Linked DNA regions of Homo sapiens: regions 2 and 3 are each linked to region 1. The links are contacts of gene promoters, found by promoter capture Hi-C in human tissues and cell types (Jung and others, 2019). All regions are on one chromosome and are shown on one strand. The core of a region is centred on a gene start or on the middle of the fragment in contact, and the rest is flanking DNA. Distances in the headings are between cores, read along the strand shown. Region 1 holds the start of FAM168A (family with sequence similarity 168 member A). Region 2 has its middle 7.5 kb from the start of KCNE3. Region 3 overlaps LOC107984421 (a long non-coding RNA gene).

The links. Contacts are between HindIII fragments. The study calls those that stand out against the background at their distance.
Region 2: a contact is called between a fragment that was not itself captured here and the fragment with the promoter of FAM168A in region 1, in 1 of the 25 tissues and cell types used here (spleen).
Region 3: a fragment that was not itself captured here is called in contact with the fragment with the promoter of FAM168A in region 1 in 1 of the 25 tissues and cell types used here (dorsolateral prefrontal cortex).

The regions. Positions count from the first base shown.
Region 1 is chr11:73,595,969-73,599,667 of GRCh38, forward strand. FAM168A (family with sequence similarity 168 member A) reads right to left here and starts at 2,144. Exons shown (of 8, transcript NM_015159.3): 1 at 1,955-2,144. RefSeq lists an enhancer at 1,478-2,206 and silencers at 2,098-2,227, 2,358-2,587. The HindIII fragment of the contact is 9,297 bases long and covers 418-3,699 here.
Region 2 is chr11:74,473,229-74,476,927 of GRCh38, forward strand. No RefSeq gene overlaps it. Among named protein-coding and RNA genes, the nearest start is that of KCNE3, 7.5 kb to the left of the region's middle. The HindIII fragment of the contact is 4,261 bases long and covers 6-3,699 here.
Region 3 is chr11:72,807,853-72,811,551 of GRCh38, forward strand. The region is part of intron 1 of LOC107984421 (a long non-coding RNA gene); the gene reads right to left. Among named protein-coding and RNA genes, the nearest start is that of ATG16L2, 4.7 kb to the right of the region's middle. RefSeq lists a silencer at 24-93. The HindIII fragment of the contact is 4,988 bases long and covers 1-3,699 here.

The DNA.
Region 1 (3,699 bases), core at 894-3,393:
GTCTTCTCTGTTTACATAAAGCGGTGGTGCCAAGACTCATCTCAGGATTATTAGCCTGCAATACAATGATGGGCCTAATTGCCTTGCAAACCAGGACACTAACAAATGGCGTCTTCAAGCAATCAATTTAAAGAGGGGGTAAAAAAGGCCCAAGCTCTTTTTGCCTATGTGCTTGTTACCTACCTACAAAATAAATTCAGTCTCATATTTTTCAGGCTCACTCATTAGTTCTCAAGCAAGGAATGCACCCTTAACAATCTCAAGCTCATCAAATCTATTTAAATTTCAAAATGCCTGGCTAGTTTTTAAATACACCAGGAGGAGAGGGGAAAAGAAAAGGCAGAGACATCATATAGAAAGATATCCATTACATTCCAGTTTATCTTCTCCCACCTTTAGTTTGGAAGTATGCTTTTTTCCCCCAACTTACTTTTTATGATATACAAATAACAGAAGACACCCTCCCCTCCTTAATTCTACCTTAACTAAATCCCCTTTCAACTTTACCCTTTGGGCTGACTTGACTTCCAAATTTTACTAATATAAATAAAACAAACAAAAACATCACCCGAACAGATTAAAATGGCCCCTAAGAATGAGAAGGTCTCTTCCGTGTCCCCTGCAAAGTCCCCTCTAACAGCCTTACTGCCTCTCACCCAACCACAGCCACCAAGGCTGTTCATTTAAGTATTCCAACCCTTAACCCTCATGTGTCTCTTGGAGGCCACCCCAATCCTTCACCACCAAAATAATCCAACCCAATTCCCCCCTGCTCTCCAGCACAGCTCACTGTCCCTCTCCATCCTCTCTGCCCCATCCATACCAACAGCTCCAGGTCTCCCATTCCTTAAATTTCCCCTGTGCCACCTCACCATCAGCAACCACCTCCCCAGGCCTACCAGCTCATCTCCGAAAGTCCTTCTCCAAAACTCCCTCTGCCACCTTGGCCAAGGGATATTTTCTTCAAGATACCATCCCCCAACTTTGCTCACCCCTGCCGCTATCCTTTCAATGAAAGCAGCCCAGTGATGTTTTATGTGCCCTCTGCCTTGACTCTGCAACCAAGGAGCCACCATGCCCTTTCCAGTGATTGTAAGATCACCCTAAATCCAACCCACTGTGCCCCACACTCCATTTCCATCCCTGTCCTCCCATTTCGGGCCTGACTTCCAATGTGGCCCCTTCCTGCCAGCTCACCATCACACTCCCCTCACTGAATGTCCCACCTCCACCAACTCCTATTCCAACCTCCATCAGCCCACCCCAGGAAACCCCCAAATTGCACTCTTCTGCTCTATCCTAACCCATGCTATTCCATAAGTCTCCACAAATTCCACCAGCCCCAGATGACAAACACCCACTTCAAGCTTGGGTCTCAACCCATGCCAAGCCCCTCACCCCCAACTCCTGCCACCTCCATCATCCTGCCCCAGGTCCACCCCAAATTCCACCCTTCTGAATTAACACTACGCAGGGCCCTAACCAACCCTGTACATGCCACTCACTCTCCGTTGAAATCATTCCCCTGCCCCTCACCCCAGCTCAGATCCCAAGCTGTCAACTGCTCCAGGCCAAACCCAAATCACCACCCTCATTCAGTCCCCTCCCCCATTAAAAGCCATCCCACCCTAGTCTCATCTTCCACCTCGCCCCAAGACCATCCCGAATTCCAACCCGACGCCCCCACCCCACTCTCCTGTCCCAGGTTGGGTTATTCTCCATCAAAAGTCCTCCTCCCTTGTCGCCCGCCCCCCAACCTGCTTGGGTCCCACCCTCACCCCACCCCCGGCCAGCGCCTGGACAAGTCTCCCCCGCCAGCCCGCCGTTCCATCGCGACCTCAACCCCCTCCCCCCAACCTGCACGGGGGCTCCGCAGCCTCCCCTCTCATTCTCGCCAGCGCCACCGGCCCAGACTCAGGACCAGCGGACCCTGTGGCGGGGGGAGTCTCCTCACCGGTGAGCAGCTGCAGGCGAAAACGGCGGCGGCGGCGGCTGAGGCGGCGATGCCCTTGTCTTCTCCGGAGGCTACGGCGGCGACGCTCTCGCCCGTGTCCAGTAGGGTGGCGGATGGCGCGCGGGGACCGGAGCCTCCTCCTCAGCGACTCGGCTCTGAATCCTCTGCAGTAGCCGCCGAGGAGCCCGACGGGTGGGGGGAGGGGACGCTCGGCTGCGGGCGAGGGAGGAGGAGGCGGAGGGAGGAGGCGGGGGACCGCTCAGAAGGGCAGGGAAGGAGGAGCCGGCGCGGCGCCGCGACACGTCCCACAGCCTCAGAGCGCCGGGACCACAACTCCCGGCATGCCCTGCTTTAGCCCGCGCGCGGCCTGCGCCTCCCGCCGCGAGCCCGGTGCAGAGGGGCCGCGCCCTCTCCGGTCACGGACAGTGGAATAAAGCCAACCATCCGCTGGCGAATTTTGTAGACTCAAAGACCACCTGTGAGGAAAGTCAGGTCGCCCGAGGCCCCATCCCCAAGGGGCCGTACTCGCAGCGTCTCCATCCTCTTTGCATAGACACCCCCCTCCCCCCGCCCACACACACACACACACTCTCTGTCTCTCCCTCTCTCCCTCTCTCCCTCTCTCCCTCTCCCTCTCGTCTCTGTCTCTGGACTACACCTCCCAGCATGCCCCTCAGCTTCCTATTCTCCTTCCGGACCCTTCTCAGACCCGGTACTACAGTTCCCAGGGAGTGTGGTCCCTGCGAAATGCTGGGAGATGGAGTTCTCGGTTCTTCCTCCATGTTAAGAAAAAGAAGTGAAAGAGAGGCAAAAGGGAAGGAATACGCCAGCCCACCGAGGATGGGCCTTGATGGGCTAGATCACCTGTGATTCTGTTCATCCCTCGCCATCTCCGTTTCAGCTGTCTCTCACCAGAACTAATGCCGGAGCTTCCTCGCTGGTCTCCCTGCAAATTTGAGGACGATTCGGCAACTTGAATCCAAACGACAAAGGGCATATCCTCTTCTTGACCCAGCTCCATTACTTTTAAGAATTTACCTTAAAAAGATGATCGAACAATTTCGAAAAGATGAATGCACAAAGTTGTTATATGACGTAGTTAATTATGAAGGGAGTAAATGTTCATCGATAGGGTGCTGCTTAAATAAGACGTGACATATACATACAATGCAATACTAAGGAGCCATTTAAAATGATATAAATCTATTGACATGAAAAGCTATTCACAATTTATTCTTCGGGGAAAAAGTTGATTACACAACAGCATGTCTACACGAGTGCATTTATGTGAGGTTTGACACAATATTCTACAAGCATGGAGAGATTTCAGGAAAGAGGTTCGCCAAAATATTAGCAATGATTATCTTGGGGGAAAGGGTGTCAGATTGCACGTAGGTTTTTTTTGTTTTTTGAGACGGAGTCTGGATCTATAGCCAGGCTGGAGTAAAGTGGGGGCGATCGCAGGTCACTGCAACCTCTGCCTCCCGGGTTCAAGCGATTCTCCTGCCTCAGCCTCCTGAGTAGCTGGGACTACAGGCGCGCGCCACCACATCCAGCTAATTTTTGTATTTTTAGTAGAGATGGGGTTTCACTATATTGGCCAGGATGGTCTCGATTTCTTGACCTCCTGACCTGCCCGCCTCAGCCTCCCAAAGTGCTGGGATTACAGGCATGAGCCACAATGCCCGACTGTAATTTTTGTTTTCATATTGTTTGAATTGTTTAAAAGGAGCACATAACGACTG
Region 2 (3,699 bases), core at 886-3,385, 880 kb after region 1:
AGATAGGCAAGTGAGGTGGAATTGAGCTGAATACCAATAACTCAATAACTCCTCCCAGGTTCCCAGCATTTTGCAGGGCTTAGCATACCCCGTCCATCCTCTAACTGTGGATTAGGGCTGTGCGTCACCAGGGTCCAGGTAGGAAACAGATGGCACCCTGAAAATGGGTAATTCAGAGTGTGGCGAGGGCTTAGGAAATCAAGACAAAATAGTGCAGTATGTCTGGCTAGCAACAGTGAGGATGAAAACTACCTGGGCTGACAGGGCAAGGGGAGGAAGGGGTTACTGGAACTCAGAGAGGGCAGTGGTGGGGAGGGCATCTCGGCTGGAGCTGTGGCCTTTGGTAGAGGCTAACCTCTCGCAGGGAGAGAGCCAGGGGAACAAGCACCTTTCCCTCTCTCCCCTCCCATCCTGTGGTCTTCTACCACTGCCTCCTGTTGGCTCAACCCAGTTGGAAGCTCCAGAGTCAGGCGGCCTACTGTGGGTGGAGAAGGGTGGTGAACCCATGAAGGGACACGTGGAAGGATCCAGCACAGGCAGTGCATCTGTCAGATGAGTAGGGTCCTCCCCTGATCCTTTTCAGCGTGCTCCAGGCAAGGGGTGGGAGGAAGGAGTAGAAGAACTAAGGAATGTGGGTGGAGGATGCGAGCTTGGGTTTTCACCCCAGAAAGGAGCAGGAGGGGACAATCTCAGTTCCTCAAATATCCACATACTCTCTGTCATCTTCAGGCCTTTGCCTATGCTGTTCTCTCTGCCTGGAACATACTTCCTCCTGGGGCCGGCTAACTCACCCTTAGATGCTACTTCCTCCCGGAAATCTCCCCTGCCCTAAATTAGATGCCTTTGTCTGTGTCCCCTGACTGCTCCCATCCCACGTATCTCCCCTTTTTCATATGTATCATCCTTGTGTAAGTCCCTGTTCTTGGGCAGGGTACAGTCTGATATGGGAAGAATGGCCCTGACTGCATGGAAAATGTTGCTCTCACTGGGAGAGCCCCTAGTCCAAGAGGGAGCAATAGACGAAGCAGCCCCTGGGGGGATCAGAATGCTGTTTGGTTTTTGGTGCTTCTAATCTTCTACCTCCAAAGTCATCAATGTTTAGAAAACAAGCAACAGATGTGGGTGTCTTTACTGGAGGTCTGGCTGAACCTACAGAGAAGGAGGGATTCCCTAATTCTTCTTAGTGATAAGAGACCACCTGGATGGTGCTGACACAGGCACAAGCCAAGAAAGGGGTCAGCCAAGGATCATCGGCCCTGGGACCTGGGCCAAGTCACTGCCCCACTTTGAGCCTCTGTGTTCCTCACTTGCACAACAACAATCTTGGTCCTGCAAACCTTGCAGTGTTCCAAGGAGCAAATGGACTCACAGCTGAGAAGGCACTTTGAAAACCATGAAATGCTTATTATTGCCTTCCCCTCAGACCAGGAGCTCCTGGAAGGAGGGGCTGTACCTCAGATGTTATGCATATTTGTTATCCCACCTAAGTAAATAGGATAGTGTGGCAGCAAAACAAAACAAAAACAAAAAGTGTTGACACTGACTTAAGCTTTGTTTTTAGAAGAATGTGTTTGGGGCTATCTTGGATTCTCCCAGAAGCAGGCCCTGGGACATGGATTTGAGTACAAGTGGTTCATGTGTGACGTGATCCCAGGAAACACAATTAGAAGAGTGGTGAAGTAACACAGGAGTGAATGGAGCCTTTCATAAGGTGTACCCTTAGCAAGCTTAGCCCTGCTAGGGAACCCTAGAGGCCTGGGTAGAACACACATCCAGAGTTACCCCTCATTAGAGGCAAGGGGGCTAGGGGAGTCAGTCATTGGCTGAGGGCTGCTCGGGGGATATGAATTCTCCAGCATGTCCAGCCTGACACATGGGTTGACAGCCCCGGTCCCTCCAAAAGTCCTGAGAAAAAAGGTACAGATGCTGGCAGGTGGAAATAGACACTGAAATGTCTATTTCTCTTCTTCTTCTTCTTCTTTTTTTTTTTTTAAGACAGGGTCTCACTCTGTCACCCAGGCTCCAGGCTGGAGTGCAGTGGTGATGATCTTGGCTCATTGCAGCCTTCACTTCCTGGACTCAAGCAATCTTTTTGCCTCAGCTTCCCAAGTAGCTGGGACTACAAGTGTACGCCACCATGCCCGGCTAATTTTTGCATTTTTTGTAAAGACAGGCTTTTACTACGTTGCCCAGGCTGGTCTCAAACTCCTGAGCTCAAGTGATCCTCCTGCCTCGGCCTCCCAAAGTGCTGATATTACAGGATTGTGCCACTGTGCCCAGCCTGAAATGACTGTTTCTAACAGATATTTGAAATGGCACTGAAATGGAAGGGCCAGGCAAATATACATGGAGCACCTAAAACACCTGCTATAGTCTGGGGCAAGATAGGCACTTGAGTTCCCCAGATTAGCTTCACACTTCAGAGACTCTCATGCTTCTTATTCTGCCTGGAACACACCATGTCTTCTTATCTATCCCACAATTCTTATCTTCTGAAGCCATAGTGGACATCTGATGTCTTGGCCTTCCCAGAATTCCTTCTTTTGGGAATAGAACCTCTCTCTTCCTTTTGGGGAGTCACCCTTCCCTCTCTTGCTCTCAGCCCATATGGTTCAGGTGGGGCTAAGCCCCATCTGTTTGTTCCAAGAGGGTCATGACGCTCCTTGGAGTGATGATTTATCCAGAATCCTTCCTGGGCCTTAGGCTGAATGTATACGGAAGTAAGGGTGGCTAAGCTATAGAATCTAAGTGTGGTGTGACCAACAGCCATCTTTGGCACCACACAGGAGAGAGTGAAGCCAATTCTGAGGTCAGCAGAGCTAAGGAATAGAGGAAGAAAAACCAAGTCCTGATGCCATTGTTTGAGTCCCTGGATCAATCTGTGCCTGAAGTCTATCCACAGACTTTTCAGTTATGAGATCTAAAATATTCTCTTTTCACTTGAGCTAGTTTGAGCTGGGTTTCCTGTTACCTACAACCCAAAGTCCTCACTAATTCAGTGTCACTTTGAGCCTTTTCTGCCCTCATCCTCCCTTTTAAGACTTAGTACTTCTTTTATTTCCCCACAGTTCCCTATGCAAGCTTCTCTCAGTGTGTATAACACTTTACTGCATGTGTTTGTTTACAGGTGTGTCTTCTCTACAAGGCGGTGAGCTCCTTGAAGATGGACCAAGTTGGATCCATCTCTGTCCTCAGGGTCCAGCACAGGCTGGAACCTGGCCAGACCATACCATACATGTTATCTTCAAGCTGCATAGATTAAGGGCACATTAGCCAATTGGAGCCTATGGAGATGAGGGCAGTGGTGTGGGGTCTGGAAGCCATGAAGAACATAAGAATAAGGAATGTTTAACTTGAAGTAGAGACCACTTCTGAGACAATCCATTCTCTGATTCCACAGACTGTTTCTGGGTGCCTCCTCTGTGGGAGGCCCGGGACTGGGGGCTGAAAAGGCCATGGATGACACAGCTATAGTCCCTGCCTGGGGAGCTCACAGTCTGGTTGGGATCGGGCATGGAAACAAGGAACTATAATAGAGTGTGGTCAGTACCACTAGAAAGGGATGTAGGGCATGGCCAGGGAAGTCCTCTTAGTGCAGGGGGGCAGAATTATGACAATGTTGGTGGCACATTTTAGCTTTGAGGAGTAACTTTCTAACAATCAGAACTGTGCAAGAATGGAAGGCTGCCTCAGGAGGCA
Region 3 (3,699 bases), core at 308-2,807, 790 kb before region 1:
TTAAATCCTTTGCTTGGCCAGGTGTGGTGGCTCATATCTTTAGTCTCAGGAGGCTGAGGTGGGAGGATTGTTTGAGCCCAGGAGTTTGAGGTTACAATGAGCTATGATTGTGCCATCGCACTCTAGCCTGGAGAGCAGAGTGAGACTCTGTCCAAAAAAAAAAAAAAAAAAAGAGGAAGAAGCAAAGTGTAGAAGTGTGTAAATGCTACTCTTTTTCTGTGGGTTTTTTTTGTTTTAGACAAGGTCTCACTCTGTCACCCAGGCTGAGTGCAGTGGCATGGTCACAGCTCAATGCAACCTCTGCCTCCTGAGCTCAAGTGATCCTCCCACCCCAGCCTCTGGAGTAGCTGGGACTACAGGCATGTGCCACCATGCCTGGCTAAATTTTGTATTTTTAGAAGAGACAGGGTTTCGCCATGTTGCCCAGGCTAGTCTCAGACTCCTGGGCTCAAGTGATCTGCTCGCCTCAGCATCCCAAAGTGCAGGGATTACAGGCGTGAGCCACTGTGCCTGTTCCCCTTTGTGTTTTATGTGTCGTATATGCATAAATATTTCTGGAAGTATACACTCTGTAGTGTTAGTGGTGATGCTTTTAGAGGAGGAGACTGGGAAAGTGGTGTGTGTTAGCCACAGTGATGTATCCACACCCATTTCTCTTTTCCAGGGACTATGGAAAGACTACATTTCTCAACCTTCCTAGTAGATGTGATGTCACCAGTCGGAATTGGGCAGAAGAATGTATCACTTCAGTCCAAGGCAATTAAGTGTTAGTGTCAATCTTTTCCCTCTCCCCTACCCCAATCTGAGCAGTTGGAATCAAATAACTGAGATTATGGTGATGTCAGAAGGATTTAAGTCCCTGCTGGGGGAGAACAGCACACCATCATTGTCTAATGTGGGATGAGTAAGAAATAAGCCTTTGTTGTTTTAAGCGACTGAGATTTGGAGTTTTATTTAGTATCCACATGTGGTGGATTAAAGATGGCCAGACTTTTTTGACATTCCTTTTTTAATTTTTTTTTGAGACAGTCTCATTCTGTCACCCAGGCTGGAATGCAATGGCACAATCTCGGCTCACTGCAAACTCCACCTCCTGGGTTCAAGCGATTCTCCTGCCTCAGCCTCCTGAATAGCTGGGATTACAGGCGTGCGCCACCACATCCGGCTAATTTTTGTATTTTTAGTAGAGACGGGGTTTCACCACGTTAGTCAGGCTGGTCTCAAACTCCTGACCTCAGATGATCCGCCCGCCTTGACCTCCCAAAGTGCTGGGATTACAGGTGTGAGCCATCGTGCCTGGCTTGACATTCCTTTCATTGAAGGCTGGGGCCTATGTCCCCTCTCCTTCAATCTGGGCTGGTCCGTGACTGCTTTGGTTAATAGAATGCAGAGGAAGTGATGTGTTCTAATTTCAGGGTCAAACCGTAAGAGACTGGCAGCTTTCATACTGTTGGATGCATGTTTTGGGATGCCTCCCTCTCAGAATCTAGCCACCATGTTCTGAGAAACCTAAGCCATGTGAAGGGGCCACATGTAGGTGCTTTGGTTTGCAGCTCCGACCCTCTAGCCAATAGATGGCATCTCCTGCCAGCCAAATGAGTGAGCCATCAACAGTAACCTGCCCAGCTGAGTCTTCAGGTAACTCCAGTCCTGGTGTGATCGCAGTCACATAAGCCATTCAAAGTAAGAATCACCAGTTGAGTTCAGCCAACAGTCATGGGCAATATTAGAAATCACTGTACTGCCAGGTGCGGTGGCTCACGCCTGTAATCCTAGCACTTTGGGAGGCTGAGGCGAGCAGATTGCCTGAGCTCAGGAGTTTGAGACCAGCCTGGGCAACGTGGTGAAACCCTGTCTCTACTAAAATACAAAAAATTAGCCAGGTGTGGCAGCGTGTGCCTGTAGTCCCAGCTACTCGGGAGGCTGAGGCAGGAGAATTGCTTGAATCTGGGAGGCGGAGGTTGCAGTGAGCCCAGATTGCCAAGATCATGCCACTGCACTCCAGACTGGGAGACAGAGCGAGACTCCATCTCTGGAAGAAAAAAAAAAAAAAAGAAATCACTGTAACCACAGACCAGCCTGTCCTATCCTGATCAATATGAAGGTGTGAGGCAAACAGGCTCACTTTTGTACTATTTCAATTCTTTGCTATGTGCATGTGATTGGTTTTCCAATTTAAAAAATAGCTACTTTTTTTTTTTTTAAACTGAGTCTTGCTCTTTCGCCCAGGCTGGAGTGCAATGGCACGATCTCAGCTCACTGCCACTTCTGCCTCCCAGGTTCAAGTGATTCTCCCCGCTCAGCCTCCCAAGCAGCTAGGATTATAGGCACCTGCCACCACTCCCGGCTAATTTTTGTATTTTTAGTAGAGACGTGGTTTCACTATGTCGGCCAGGCTGGTCTCGAACTCCTGACTTCAGGTGATCCACCGCCTCGGACTCCCAAAGTGCTGGGATTACAGGCGTGAGCCACTATACCCAGCCAAAAAATAGCTACATTTTTTATTTCAAAACTTCTAAGCACTGGACCATGCAAACTTTGGTTTTTTCTTTTTGATACACAGCAACAGCAATTTATTTACGGATTACCTACTCAGTTGGTGCCAAGCCTGGTTCTAGATGCTGAAGACAGAGCCTAGATCAAGATTGACTTGGTCCTGGCTTTCCTGAAGTTCCCAGCCTGGTAGAAGAGACATAATAAACAACTAGCAAACACAGAAATGTGATTCTTTCTGGGAGTATTAGGTGCTCTGAAAGGAAGAACAAGGGTGATGTGATAGACGCTGATTGGGATGGGAGCTTTTTCAGATTGGATGACAGGAAAGGTCTTCTGAAATCTGCCTGGTATGTAGGAGCTAGCCTCTAAAAGTTGTGGAGGAAGAGCACTAGGAGAGGGGTGCAGCCAGGGCAAAGCCTCCAAGGTGGGGCTAAGCTTGGCAGTGGGATTTCAGTGCAGTGAATAAGGCTAAAGAGTAGGAAGAGGTAAGATCAGTGATGTGGGCAGGGGCCAGATCAAGCAGGGCCTTGAAGGCCATGGTAAAGGGTTTGGTATTTGCTTTGACTATGCTGGAGAGCCTTTCAAGGGTTTTAAGCAAGAGGAACTTGAGATGACTTAAGATTTTTGTTTTTGTTTTTGAGACAGTCTTGTTCTGTTGCTCAGGCTGGAGTGCAGTGGCGCAATCTTGGCTCACTGAAACCTCTGCTTCCTGGGTTCAAGTGATTCTCCTGCCTCAGCCTCCCAAGTAGCTGGGATTACAGGCGTGCGCCACCATGCCTGGATAATTTTTGTATTTTTAGTAGAGACGGGGTTTCTCCATGTTGGTCAGGCTGGTCTCAAAGTCCCGACCTCAGGTGATCTGCCCACCGTGGCCTCCCAAAGTGCTGGGATTACAGGTGTGAGACACCGTGCCTGGCCTGATTTAAGTTTTTGAACAATCACTCTGGCTTCTGGGAGATGCCTAACCCAGGTGCACTTTTTTTTTTTTTTTTTTTTTTTTTTTTGAGATGGAGTCTCGCTCTGTCACCAGGCTGGAGTGCAGTGGTGCGATCTCAGCTCATTGCAACCTCTGCCTCCCGGATTCAAGCAATTCTCTGCCTTAGCCTCCTGAGTAGTTGGGATTACAGACGCCCACCACCAAGCCTGGCTTTTTTTTGGGTATTTTTAGTAGAGATGGGGTTTCACTATGCTGGCCAGGCTGGT